Regions from separate parts of the Homo sapiens genome. Here regions 1 and 3 are each linked to region 2. Evidence: promoter capture Hi-C in 16 types of primary human blood cells and fetal thymus (Javierre and others, 2016). All regions are on one chromosome and are shown on one strand. The core of a region is centred on a gene start or on the middle of the fragment in contact, and the rest is flanking DNA. Distances in the headings are between cores, read along the strand shown. Region 1 overlaps PHF7 (PHD finger protein 7). Region 2 holds the start of RPL29 (ribosomal protein L29). Region 3 overlaps NISCH (nischarin).

Region 1 (3,664 bases), core at 1,050-3,549, 420 kb before region 2:
GCCTGGCCAACATGGTGAAACCCTGTCTCTACTAAAAATACAAAAACTAGGGCATGGTGGTGCGCGCCTGTAATCCCAGCTACTCGGGAGGCTGAGGCAGGAGAATCGCTTGAACCCGGGAGGCGGAGGTTGAAGTGAGCCAAGATCAGGCCACTGCACTCTAGCCTGGGCGACAGAGCAAGACTCCGTCTCAAAAAAAAAAAAAAAAATTCCTGTAATGGCAGATGCTATTATGATGCTCATCTTACAGAGGAGGCCGCTGAGGTGCAGTGTGGCAAGTGACACTGCCTCCCAGGGTTATAGGACAAGGAGGAGCAGAGCTGGCTATTCACACCCAGGCCCATGGAATCCCCATTCTTACCCTTCCTGCTGCATCACCTCTTAGTACAGAGAAAATACTCTTCTCAGAGTAATACAGGAAGAAAAACAGGGTTTTAATATCTCTTGATTGTTGTTGTTCTGTATTATGGGGGAAGGAATTGAACTTTTGAAACACATATTTTAAAACTAATTATCTCAGGGCTTTGGGATGAGTGATTTGTTTTCTTCATATTTTTAAGTATCATTCATGTTTTCTGCAATAAGCATGTATTGATTTAATAAATTAGCTACTAAAAAGAAAAAACTATATCTATATGTTCTATACAGAAAGATTTCCAAAATATATATGATGGAAAAAAGCCAAGATACAAAGCACTCTGTATAATGTTTAATTTTTATGTAAAAAATGTATATGCTTGTAAATACATCAAAATTATAACTAAGCCCTGACACCTGATAGGACTTACAAGAAAGGAAAATCACAGACCAATCTTTCTCATGAGCACAGATATAAAAATCAAAACAGATGCAAACTGAATCCAGCACCATATAAAAAGGACAATACATCATGACCAAGTAGAGTTTATACCAAGAATGCAAGACTAGTTTAACATTAGAGCATTTAGTTGATGTAACAAACTACATTAACAAAATTAAAGAGAAAAATCAAGATAATCTCAATAAATACAGGAAAAGTGAGAAAATTCAACACCCATTCATGATACTCTGGGCAAACTATATATGAATAAAAGGGATCTTCAACCTGATAAAAACATCTATGAAAAAAACCTAGAGCTAACATACTTTAATAGTGAAAAACTAGATGCTGTCCCCTGATGTTGGGAACAAGACAAGGATAACAACTCACACCACTTCTATTCAATGTTAGGTTAAAGGTCCTAGCCAATACAACAAGGCAAGAAGAAATAAAAGGCAAAGATTGAGAGAAAGAAGTAGAACTGTCTTTATTCACACATGACATGGTTATGTGCATAGGGAATCCTGTAACAAGGCATTTACAACAAAATAAAAAAACAACTAATCAAACTCAATTTAACAAGATTACAGGATACAAATCAATATACAAAAATAAAATGCATTTCTATATACCAGCAATAAACTTAAAAATGAAATAAAAATACTATTTACAATAGCATAACCACAGAATATTTAGGAATACATTTAACAAAAGATGTACAAGACTTTGTCACCAAAACAACAAAACATTGCTGAGATATATTTTAAAAGACCCAAATAAGTGGAAAAATATACCATGTCCATGGATTGGAAGGTTCAATATTTTTTGTCAATTCTTCCCAAATTGACCTATAAATTCAATGCAATCCCAATCACAATCCCAGTAGACTTTTTTTTTAAAGAAAAATTGACAAGCTTAATATAAACTTTATAAAGAAAGGACCTGATAGTCAAAACAATCTTGGAAAAGATTGTAGAACTTAACAATACTGAATTTCAATATACTATAAAGCCACAATAATCAAGACAGTGGGGACTTGTGTAAGAATAGATACATAGATCAATGACATAAATAGATTATCCAGATCCACAGATATATGGTCAATTGATTTTGACAAAGGCACCAAGGCAATTCTATGGGTAGGTAAAGATTTCTTGCAACACACAAAAAGCACTGACCATAAAAGAAAAAAATGGATAAACTGGGCTCCATTACAATTACAAACTTGTTCTTTGAAAGACACCATTAAGAAAATGAAAAGGCAAGCCAAAGACTAGGAAGAAAATAGTCTCAATACATATATTTGAAAAAGAATTTGTATCTGAAATATATAAGCAATTCCTACAACTCAATAATAAAACCACTCAATTTTTTTTTTTTTTTTTTGAGACGGAGTCTTGCACTGTCGCCCAGGCTGGAGTGCAGTGGCGTGATCTCGGCTCACTGCAAGCTCCACTTCCTGGGTTCACGCCATTCTCCTGCCTCAGCCTCCCGAGTAGCTGGGACTACAGGCGCCTGCCACCATGCCCGGCTAATTTTTTTATTTTTAGTAGACACAGGGTTTCACCGTGTTAGCCAGGATGGTCTCCATCTCCTGACCTCTTGATCTGCTCGCCTCGGCCTCCCAAAGTTCTGGGATTACAGGCGTGAGCCACTGTGCCCGACCACCACTCAGTGTTTTTAAATGGGTAAAAATATTTGTACAGATACTTAACAAACGAAAATATGTGGGCCGGGCCAGGCGCGGTGGCTCACGCCTGTAATCCCAGCACTTTGGGAGGCCGAGGTGGGCAGATCACGAGGTCAAGAGATCGAGACCATCCTGGCTAACACGGTGAAACCCTGTCTCTACTAAAAATATAAAAATTAGCCATGCGTGGTGACAGGCACCTGTAGTCCCAGCTACTTGGGAGGCTGATGCAGGAGAATTGCTCCAACCCGGGAGGTGGAGGCTGCAGTGAGCCAAGATCATACCACTGCACTCCAGCCTGGGCGACAGAGCGAGACTCCATCTCAAAAAAAAAAAAAAACCAAAAAACCAAAGAAAATATGTGAATGGCCAATATGCACATGAAAAGAAGCTTTAGTCATCAGAAAAATGGAAATTAAAACGACAATGAAATACCAATACACACCCAGTAGAATGGCTAAAATTAAGAACACTGACAAAACAAAGTTCCGGCAAGAATACTGTGCAACTGGACTTCTTATAAATTGCTGGTAGGAGTGTAAGCTGGTACAACCGCTTTGGACAGTGATGTGGCAACCTCACATAAAGTTAAATATCTAATTAGCATACAACTAGTAATTCCACTTCTAGGCATCTGCACAAGAGAAGTGAAAGCACATGTTCACAAAGAGACTTGTACATGAATGCTTAAAGTAGCTTTATTCATAATAGTCCTCAAATGGAAACAATTCAGATGTTCATCAACAGGTGAACAGATAAGCAAATAGTAACTTATTCATGCAACCGAATACTACCAAGTAATAAAAAGGCACAAGCTATGAATGCATGCAACAACATGGATGAATCTCCAAAACACTGTGTTGGGAGAAAAAAGCCAGATACAGAAGATTATAAACTATATGATTTCACTTATATGAAGTAAAAGAATAGCCAAAAATAATCCATAGATCAGAACAGTGATTACGTCTAGTGGGATTGACTGGAAAAGGAGGCAGGAGGGAACTTTCTGGGGTGATGAAAATATTACCTATTTTGATTGGGGTGGTGGTTATTTGGGGACATACATTTATCAAAACTTATCAAACTGGACCCTTAAAATTAGTGAATTTTGTTCAAGACCAGCCTGGCTAACACGGTGAAACCTGTCTCTACTAAAAATACAAAATTAGCCAGGC
Region 2 (3,734 bases), core at 1,134-3,633:
AGGGACTTTATTCCTGCAGAGACACTCTCCTCTGGGCTCAGCTGTTTCTTTCTTGGCACCAGATCATCCATCAGTATATAAGCCTGCTTTTCATTCTCCCAACTCACACCTGTCAGAATTCTCTCCCCTTTCTCAGGAATGCTTTGGTAATGAGTCATCCACATGTCCTGCCTCCACAACCTCCTTTCCGCTTCACTCCCTAAACCTCTGCAGTATGCGTCTGTCACTCCACGAACCTGGCTTGTCAAGGAACGTTCACTGGGCATGTGTTTATTAAGCTCTTGCTCTATCTACATTATGCTGAGTTAGGCAGTGGGAAAATGAAGGTGATCAAACCAGTCCCAAACTCTGGGCTCCTATGATAATGGACACATACACAACTAAGTAAACAATGCAATTAGAGTCTGGGAAAGTTCTATAAAGAAAGCAAACCATGGCCGGGCACGGTGGCTTACGCCTGTAATCCCAGCACTTTGGGAGGCCGAGGCGGGCAGACCACCTGAGGTCAGGAGTTCAACACCAGCCTGGCCAACATGGTGAAAACCCGTCTCTACTAAAAATAATTCTTTAAAAATTAGCTGGGAGTGGTGGTGTGCGCCCGTAATCCCAGCTACTCAGGAGGCTGAGGCAGGAGAATCGCTTGAACCCGGGAGGCAGAGGTTGCAGTGAGCTGAGATCGCACCACTGCACTCCAGCCTGGGAGACAGAGTGAGACTGTCTAAAAAAAAGAAAAAAAAAAAAAGAATAGAAAAGAAAGGAAACCATGAGAGGACACAGAATCACTGGTGAGATGAGGCAGTGGTTCTCTATTTTAGATAATGGAGTCCAGGGAGGCCTCTATAGGAAAGAGCACACCATCCAAAAAGCAGGGAGAAGGGCAGTCCAGGTGGCTGGGATAGCAAGTGCAAAGGTCCTGAGGCAGAACACACATTTGTGGTTGGCAGGAAAGAAAGGCAATGCGTTTGGAGAGAAGTAAATGACAGAGGTTGTCAGGGTCAAGTGGGTAAAGAATTGATCTTCAATGCAAGGGGATGTCCTTGCAGATTTAAGGGACAGGATCTGATTTGTATCTTAAAACAAGTCCCCAAGCCCCACTGCCGTGTGGAAAATGAACTATAGGGGGAAGAGGTGGAGAAGGCAACAGAGTTGTTAGAGGCAACAATTTCTCAATTCTGATGTCCAACAGGCATCTCACATTTAATGCATCCAACAAAAATATCTGGCTCATCATTCCCCCTCAAAACAAAACAAACAAAGCCCCTGCTCCCCACTCAATCTTCCATCTCTGTAAACAGCCCACCATTCACCCAGTTGTCAAGCCAAAGACATAGGGGCTATCCTTGCCTCCTTTTTCTCCCTCATCTTCTGTGTCCCAAGTCCAGTACTCTTTCTTTGTCCACTCCTCTGCATTCCCACTGTCCTCCCTCAGGTCCAGGCAGCCCTCTCTCCTTCCTCCCCTCTGCTCCTTCTCCACGAAAGAGTCAGGCGTGCTTTTCTTTTTTTTTTTTGAGACAGAGTCTCGCCCTGTAGCCCAGGCTGGAGTGCAATGGTGCGATCTTGGCTCACTGCAACCTCCACCTCCCAGATTCAAGCAATTCTCCTGCCTCAGCCTCCAGAGTAGCTGGGATTACAGGCACGTGCCACCACGCCCCGTGAATTTTTTTTTTTTTTTTTTTTTTTTTTTTGGATTTTTAGTAGAGATGGGGTTTCACCATGTTGTCCAGGCTGGTCTGGAACTCCTGACCTCGTGATCCGCCCACCTCAGCCTCCCAAAGTGCTGGGATTACAGGGGTGCTTTTAAGAACACAGATCGGCCAGGTGCGGTGGCTCACGCCTGTAATCCCAGCACTTTGGGGGACAGAGGCGAGCGGATCGCGAGGTCAGGAGTTCGAGACCAGCCTGGCCAACATGGTGAAACCCCGTCTCTACTAAAAATGTAAAAATTAGCCGGGCGTGGTGGTGGGCGCCTGTAATCCCAGCTACTCGGGAGGCTGAGGCAAGAGAATCGCTTGAAACCGGAAGGCGGAGGTTGCAGTGGGCCGAGATTGTGCCACTGCCCTCCAGCCTCGGTGGAAGAGCGAAACTCCGTCTCAAAAAAAAAAAAAAAGAAAAAGAACACAGATCTTCTTGCCCAACAACATCCCTCAAGGACTCCTTTCTTTTTCAGTATCTTGAATAAGACTTAAGAGACAGGTCCTGGAGAAACAGAGAAGGGAGGAGGCAGCCTGAAGGGGGCGGAGGCAAGCTCGTAGCACCGCCTCCACGTCTGGCTTGCGTTCTTCCGGGCTTCGGAACTTTTCTTCGCGGAGCCTGGGGAAGCTTTTCCAGTAGTACTTTCCGGCGTTGTTGACCCTATTTCCCGTGCTGCACCGCAGCCCCTTTCTCTTCCGGTTCTAGGCGCTTCGGGAGCCGCGGCTTATGGTGAGTGTTGGCCGCGCGGCATCCGATGCCATCCGCGACTTACGGGTGGCGGCGGGGCGCGGGCTGCGGAGAGGACTGGTGACCGACCGTGTGTCTGTCGGGAGCAAAAGCTGCGGGGTGGGAATGGTGCTTCTAGGTCCTAGGAGGGGGATGGCAGGGAAAGCCACTTTATTGGGGAATGCAGCTTTCCGGGGGTAAGGAGTTGATTTCAGGGCATCATTACCTGGGTTTGGGAGGCCAGGACTGGCGTTTGGTCGTGCAGAGTAAGCCGAGACTCGTGGAGGCTGCACATTCTCTGCCTGCAGGCTCATTCTGACCAGAATGGGGGGGGCAGAGGTGGCCCAGCCTGGCGAGCCCTTAACCCTGATCTCCACTTTTGTCTTCCAGGTGCAGACATGGCCAAGTCCAAGAACCACACCACACACAACCAGTGTAAGTTTTTTGGGCCCTGCCTACATCCCAGACCCTGGCAAGGACTGGTTCAGGCAAACTGGGACAGAGATGAAGGGGCACGTTTCCATTGTGGGCCTGAGGCTGATTGATTTCACCCAGTAATAACTTTAGGGTTTATAGGTTTAGAGATCTACTTGAGATACAGAGTGTTTTGCATTTAGTAGTAAGGGTTTCCCATATCTCAAGTGTAGCTGCTGTAGGAAGTGTTGGTTCTCCCAGACTTGCCAGCTGTGATGTTGGGTGGTCTTATTAGAGGAAAGTTCTTTGTTGGCTTAATTCCCTTTTTTTCTCCCACAGCCCGAAAATGGCACAGAAATGGTATCAAGAAACCCCGATCACAAAGATACGAATCTCTTAAGGGGGTGAGTGCACTGAATCACATGGAAGTGTCTTTTCTTGGTTCCAGGTGCACAGTCAAGGCCTCTCATGTAGTTTTTCTCTAGCTTTGGCTTCTGCCTGAGCACAGCCTAACTGGCCCACCCAAAGCCTGCAATTCCTTTTTCTACCCTACCAGACCCATAATAAAGCTTTCCTTGGTCTCCACAGCCTGAAGTGTAACCCTCTGGTCAGGGTGTAACCTGCCTCCTGAGGGCAGTTTGGCTATCTCCCTTGCTTGGCAGTGGCACTTAGGGTAAGGAGTGGCCTTGTCTGAGTGCGTGCAGGGCACATTCCCACACTGACCAGCCTTATGACCTCCATCTGACCCAGTGCTGGAGTTGGGGTCAGCTTCTCTTCCTGTGTCAGGGGGTTCTAAGGATTAGCTGAGAAGGCTGGAGGGTCTAGGGGAGAGCTGAGCATGTCCCCAGTCTGTTCCTTCCCTTTACTTTTGCTCTCTGTTCCGTGGAGTGAATCACAAACTC
Region 3 (3,801 bases), core at 434-2,933, 470 kb before region 2:
TGCCTGAGTCTCTGGAGTAGCTGGGATTACAGGTGGGTGCCACCATGCCTGGCTAATTTTTTGTATCTTTAGTGAAGAAGGGGTTTCACCATGTTGGCCAGGCTGGTCTTGAACTCCTGACCTTGTGATCCATCTGCCTCAGCCTCCCAAAGTGCTGGGATTACAGGCGTGAGTCACCATGCCCGGCCCTCCTCGTCTCACTTTAATTTATGTTGGTATGAGGCATTCTAGCAGGAGTCAGGCATAATATGTGTGATTCAACTTTAAGCTAAAATTCCCCATTGATGGATTCAAACCTCAGCTTTAACTGAAGAGAGTTGCAAGACTGTAAGTTCAAAAGAAAATCTGTTGTAATTCACAGCCTCAGTACTTTGCAACTAAAACAAATTATGGAAATAAATTGGATGCTAAAGCCAATGCTAAGATTGTAACAGTTCAACATAGCCCCTGATTCCAAATTTTGAAAAGGATCTTTGTTCTAGCCAACTAACTTTAAAAGAAGACAACAATATAAACACCTTTCAAGAGAAATGAATTCCTTTTCTTTCCCGAACCACCTAGTAATGGCTAGCACATGGTCAGCCCTAACCTCAGGCCCAACACTCTTCTAAGCCATTGACCTTCACTGCACAGTCTCTTGCAGGCCTCACAAGGACCCCAGCTCACCAGCCTCCAGCTCACAGGCAGGTTAAATGACTGACTTGGACTAAACCGTTGGGAAGTAGGGGTGGGAGATAAACTCGCCTCTGCCTGCCTCCAAGTCCACCACAGTTGGAGGTCCCGGCCCACATGGTGTGCTAGAATTCCGGATGGGATTCCATTTCACTGAGTTTGGAAACCTCTGTTCCAGGGGTTCTGGGATGAGGCCTGTCACCACGCGTCCAGGAGGGTCAGGACACAGCAATCTGAAGAGCAGCATAGCAACAGGCCAGTGCCACAGTGTGCCCCTCACTCATACAGGCGGCAACCCCTGCGCTCCCACCTAAAGTGGGCTGGTAAACAAGTAGTGCTTTCTTTCCTTGTTATTAAAATCCACACTGCAGGCTGGGTGTGGTGGCTCACGCCTGTAAACCGAGCGCTTTGGGAGGCCGAGGTGGGTGGATCACTTGAGCCCAGGAGTTCGAGACCAGCCTGGGCAACATGGAGAAACCCCATCTCCACAAAAAGTACAAAAATTAGCCAAGTACGGTGGCATATGCCTGTAGTCCCAGCTACTTGGGGGGTTGAGGTGGGAGGAGTGCTTGAGCCTGGGAGGTTGAGGCTGCAGTGAGCCGAGATGGTGCCACTGCACTCCAGCCTAGGCAATAGAGCAAGACCCTGTCTCAAAAAACAAACAAAATCCATACAGGAATATATTGTTATAAATCTTTGTGACCTTGGATTGGGCAATGGTTTCTCATGTATGATACCAAAACACAAGTGACCAAAGAAATTGATAAATTGAACTTAATCAAAATCTAAATCTTTTGTGCTTCAATGAAGACCATCAAGAAAATGAAAAGATGGCCGGGCATGGTGGCTTACGCCTGTTATCCCATCAATTTGGGAGGCTGAGGCAGGTGGATCACCTAAGGTCAGGAGTTCGAGACCAGCCTGGCCAACATAGTAAAACCCTGTCTCTACTAAAAATAGAAAAATTAGCTGGGCAGGCCGGATGTGGTGGCTCAGGCTGTAATGCCGGCACTTTGGGAGGCTGAGACAGGTGTATCACCTAAGGTCAGGAGTTCAAGACCAGCCTGGCCAACATGGTAAAACCCCATCTCTACTAAAAATACAAAAATCAGCCAGACGTGGTTGCGTACGCCTGTAGTCCCAGCTACTTGGGAGGCCGAGGCACGAGAATCGCTTGAACCCCAGGGGTGGAGGTTGCAGTGAGTCGAGATCACGCCACTATACTCCAGCTTGGGCAACAGAGCAAGAATCTGTCTCAAAAAAAAAAAAAAAAAAAAAAAAAGACAACTCACAGAATGTGAAAAAGTATTTGCATGTTTCTAAAAGTCTAGTAGCCAGAATATATAAAGAACTCTTACAACTCAACAACAAAGATAATCTGTTTTTTTTGTTTTTTTTGTTTTTTTAGACAGTCTTACTCTGTCACCCAGGCTGGAGTGCAGTGGTGTGGTCTCACTCATTGCAATCTTCGCCTCTCAGATTTAAGCCATTCTTGTGCGTCAGCCTCCCGAGGAGCTGAGATTACAGGCACACACCACCATGCCCGGCTAATTTCTGTATTTTTAGTAGAGACAGGGTTTCTCCATGTTGGCCAGGCTGGTCTCGAACTCCAGGCCTCAAGTGATCCGCCCACCTCAGCCTTCCAAAGTGCTGGGATTACAGGCATGAGCCACCCGCGCCCGGCCCAATCTGATTTTTAAAAAGACAAAGAATTGGATACTTTTCTCCAAAGAAAATACACAAATGGCCAAATATCATATGAAAAGAGGCTCAGGCCAGGTGTGGTGGCTCACACCTGTAATCTCAGCACTTTGGGAGGCCAAGGTGGGCGAATCACTTGAGGCCAGAAGTTCGAGACCATCCTGGCCGACATGGTGAAACCCCGTCTCTAATGAAAAAAATACAAAAATTAGCCAGGCGTGGTGGTGCACGCCTGTAGTCCCAGCTACTCGGGAGGCTGAGGCACGAGAATCGCTTGAACCCAGGAGACAGAGGTTGCAGTGAGCCGGGATCACATGCCTGCACCCCAGCCTGTGCGACAGAGCGAGACTCTGTCTCAGAAAAAAAAAAAAAAAAAAAAAAAAAGAGGTTCAATAACATTAGTCATTAGGGAAATGTAAATTAAAACCACAATGAGATACCACTTCACACCCACCAGAACAACTAAGATTTAAAAAAAAATGGACAAGAAGTGTTAAGCAAGAATGTGGGGAAATTAGAACCTATACACTGCCGATGGAAACGTCAAATGGTGCAACAACTGTGGAGAACAATTTGTTAGTTTCTCAAAAAGTCAAACATAGTTACCATATAACTCAGGTTCCACTTTTGGCTATATATCCAACAAAAATGAAAACATAAGTTCACACAAAAATTAACATACAAATGCTCATAGCAGCATCATTTGCAATGGCCAAAAATGGAAACAAACCTAACATCCATCAACTGCTAATAAATAAACATAATGTGGCATATCCAAATAATACACTATTACTCCGTCATAAAAGGACCAATGGATTCATGCTACAATATGAACGGACCTTGAAAAGATAAGGCTAAATGAAAGAAGCCAGTCACAAAAGGCCACACACTGTATGATTCTATTTATATGAAATGTCCAGAACAGGCAAATCCATAAGGACAGAAAGTAGATTAGTGACTGCCAGGGGCTGGGGGACAGAGGGATGGGAAGCTCCTGCTAACAGGTACAGGTTCCTTTTTGGGCTGATGAAATGTTCTGGAATTAGATAGTGGTGATGGTCGCTCAACTTTGTGAATATACTAAAAACTACTGAATTGTACACATTAAAAAGTTAATTTTATGGTATGTAAATTATATCTCAATTTTTAAAAATCCACACCATGGCCAGGCGTGGTGGCTCATGCCTGTAATCCCAGCACTTTGGGAGGCTGAGGCAGGTGGATCACGAGGTCAAGCGTTTGAGACCAGCCTCACCAACATAGTGAAACCCCGTCTCTACTAAAAATACAAAAAATTAGCTGGGTGTGGTGGCGGGCCATCTGTAATCCCAGCTACTCGGGAGGCTGAGGCAGGAGAATCACTTGAACCTGGGAGGTGGAGGTTGCAGTGAGCCGAGATCGTACCACTGCACTCCAGCCTGGCCAGTA

What was found. Contacts are between HindIII fragments. The CHiCAGO score rates a contact against its expected background, and 5 or more counts as called.
Region 1: a contact is called between a fragment that was not itself captured here and the fragment with the promoter of RPL29 in region 2, in 1 of 17 cell types (total B cells). The highest score is 5.4, in total B cells.
Region 3: a contact is called between a fragment that was not itself captured here and the fragment with the promoter of RPL29 in region 2, in 1 of 17 cell types (naive B cells). The highest score is 6.0, in naive B cells.

The regions. Positions count from the first base shown.
Region 1 is chr3:52,415,354-52,419,017 of GRCh38, reverse strand. The region is part of intron 4 of PHF7 (PHD finger protein 7); the gene reads right to left. Among named protein-coding and RNA genes, the nearest start is that of PHF7, 6.5 kb to the right of the region's middle. The HindIII fragment of the contact is 1,167 bases long and covers 1,716-2,882 here.
Region 2 is chr3:51,994,544-51,998,277 of GRCh38, reverse strand. It overlaps RPL29 (ribosomal protein L29), which reads left to right and starts at 2,383. Exons shown (of 4, transcript NM_000992.3): 1 at 2,383-2,421; 2 at 2,809-2,853; 3 at 3,172-3,236. The coding sequence starts at 2,817. RefSeq lists an enhancer at 2,279-2,438. The HindIII fragment of the contact is 1,082 bases long and covers 2,322-3,403 here.
Region 3 is chr3:52,462,671-52,466,471 of GRCh38, reverse strand. The region is part of intron 3 of NISCH (nischarin); the gene reads right to left. Among named protein-coding and RNA genes, the nearest start is that of NISCH, 9.0 kb to the right of the region's middle. The HindIII fragment of the contact is 5,780 bases long and covers 1-3,801 here.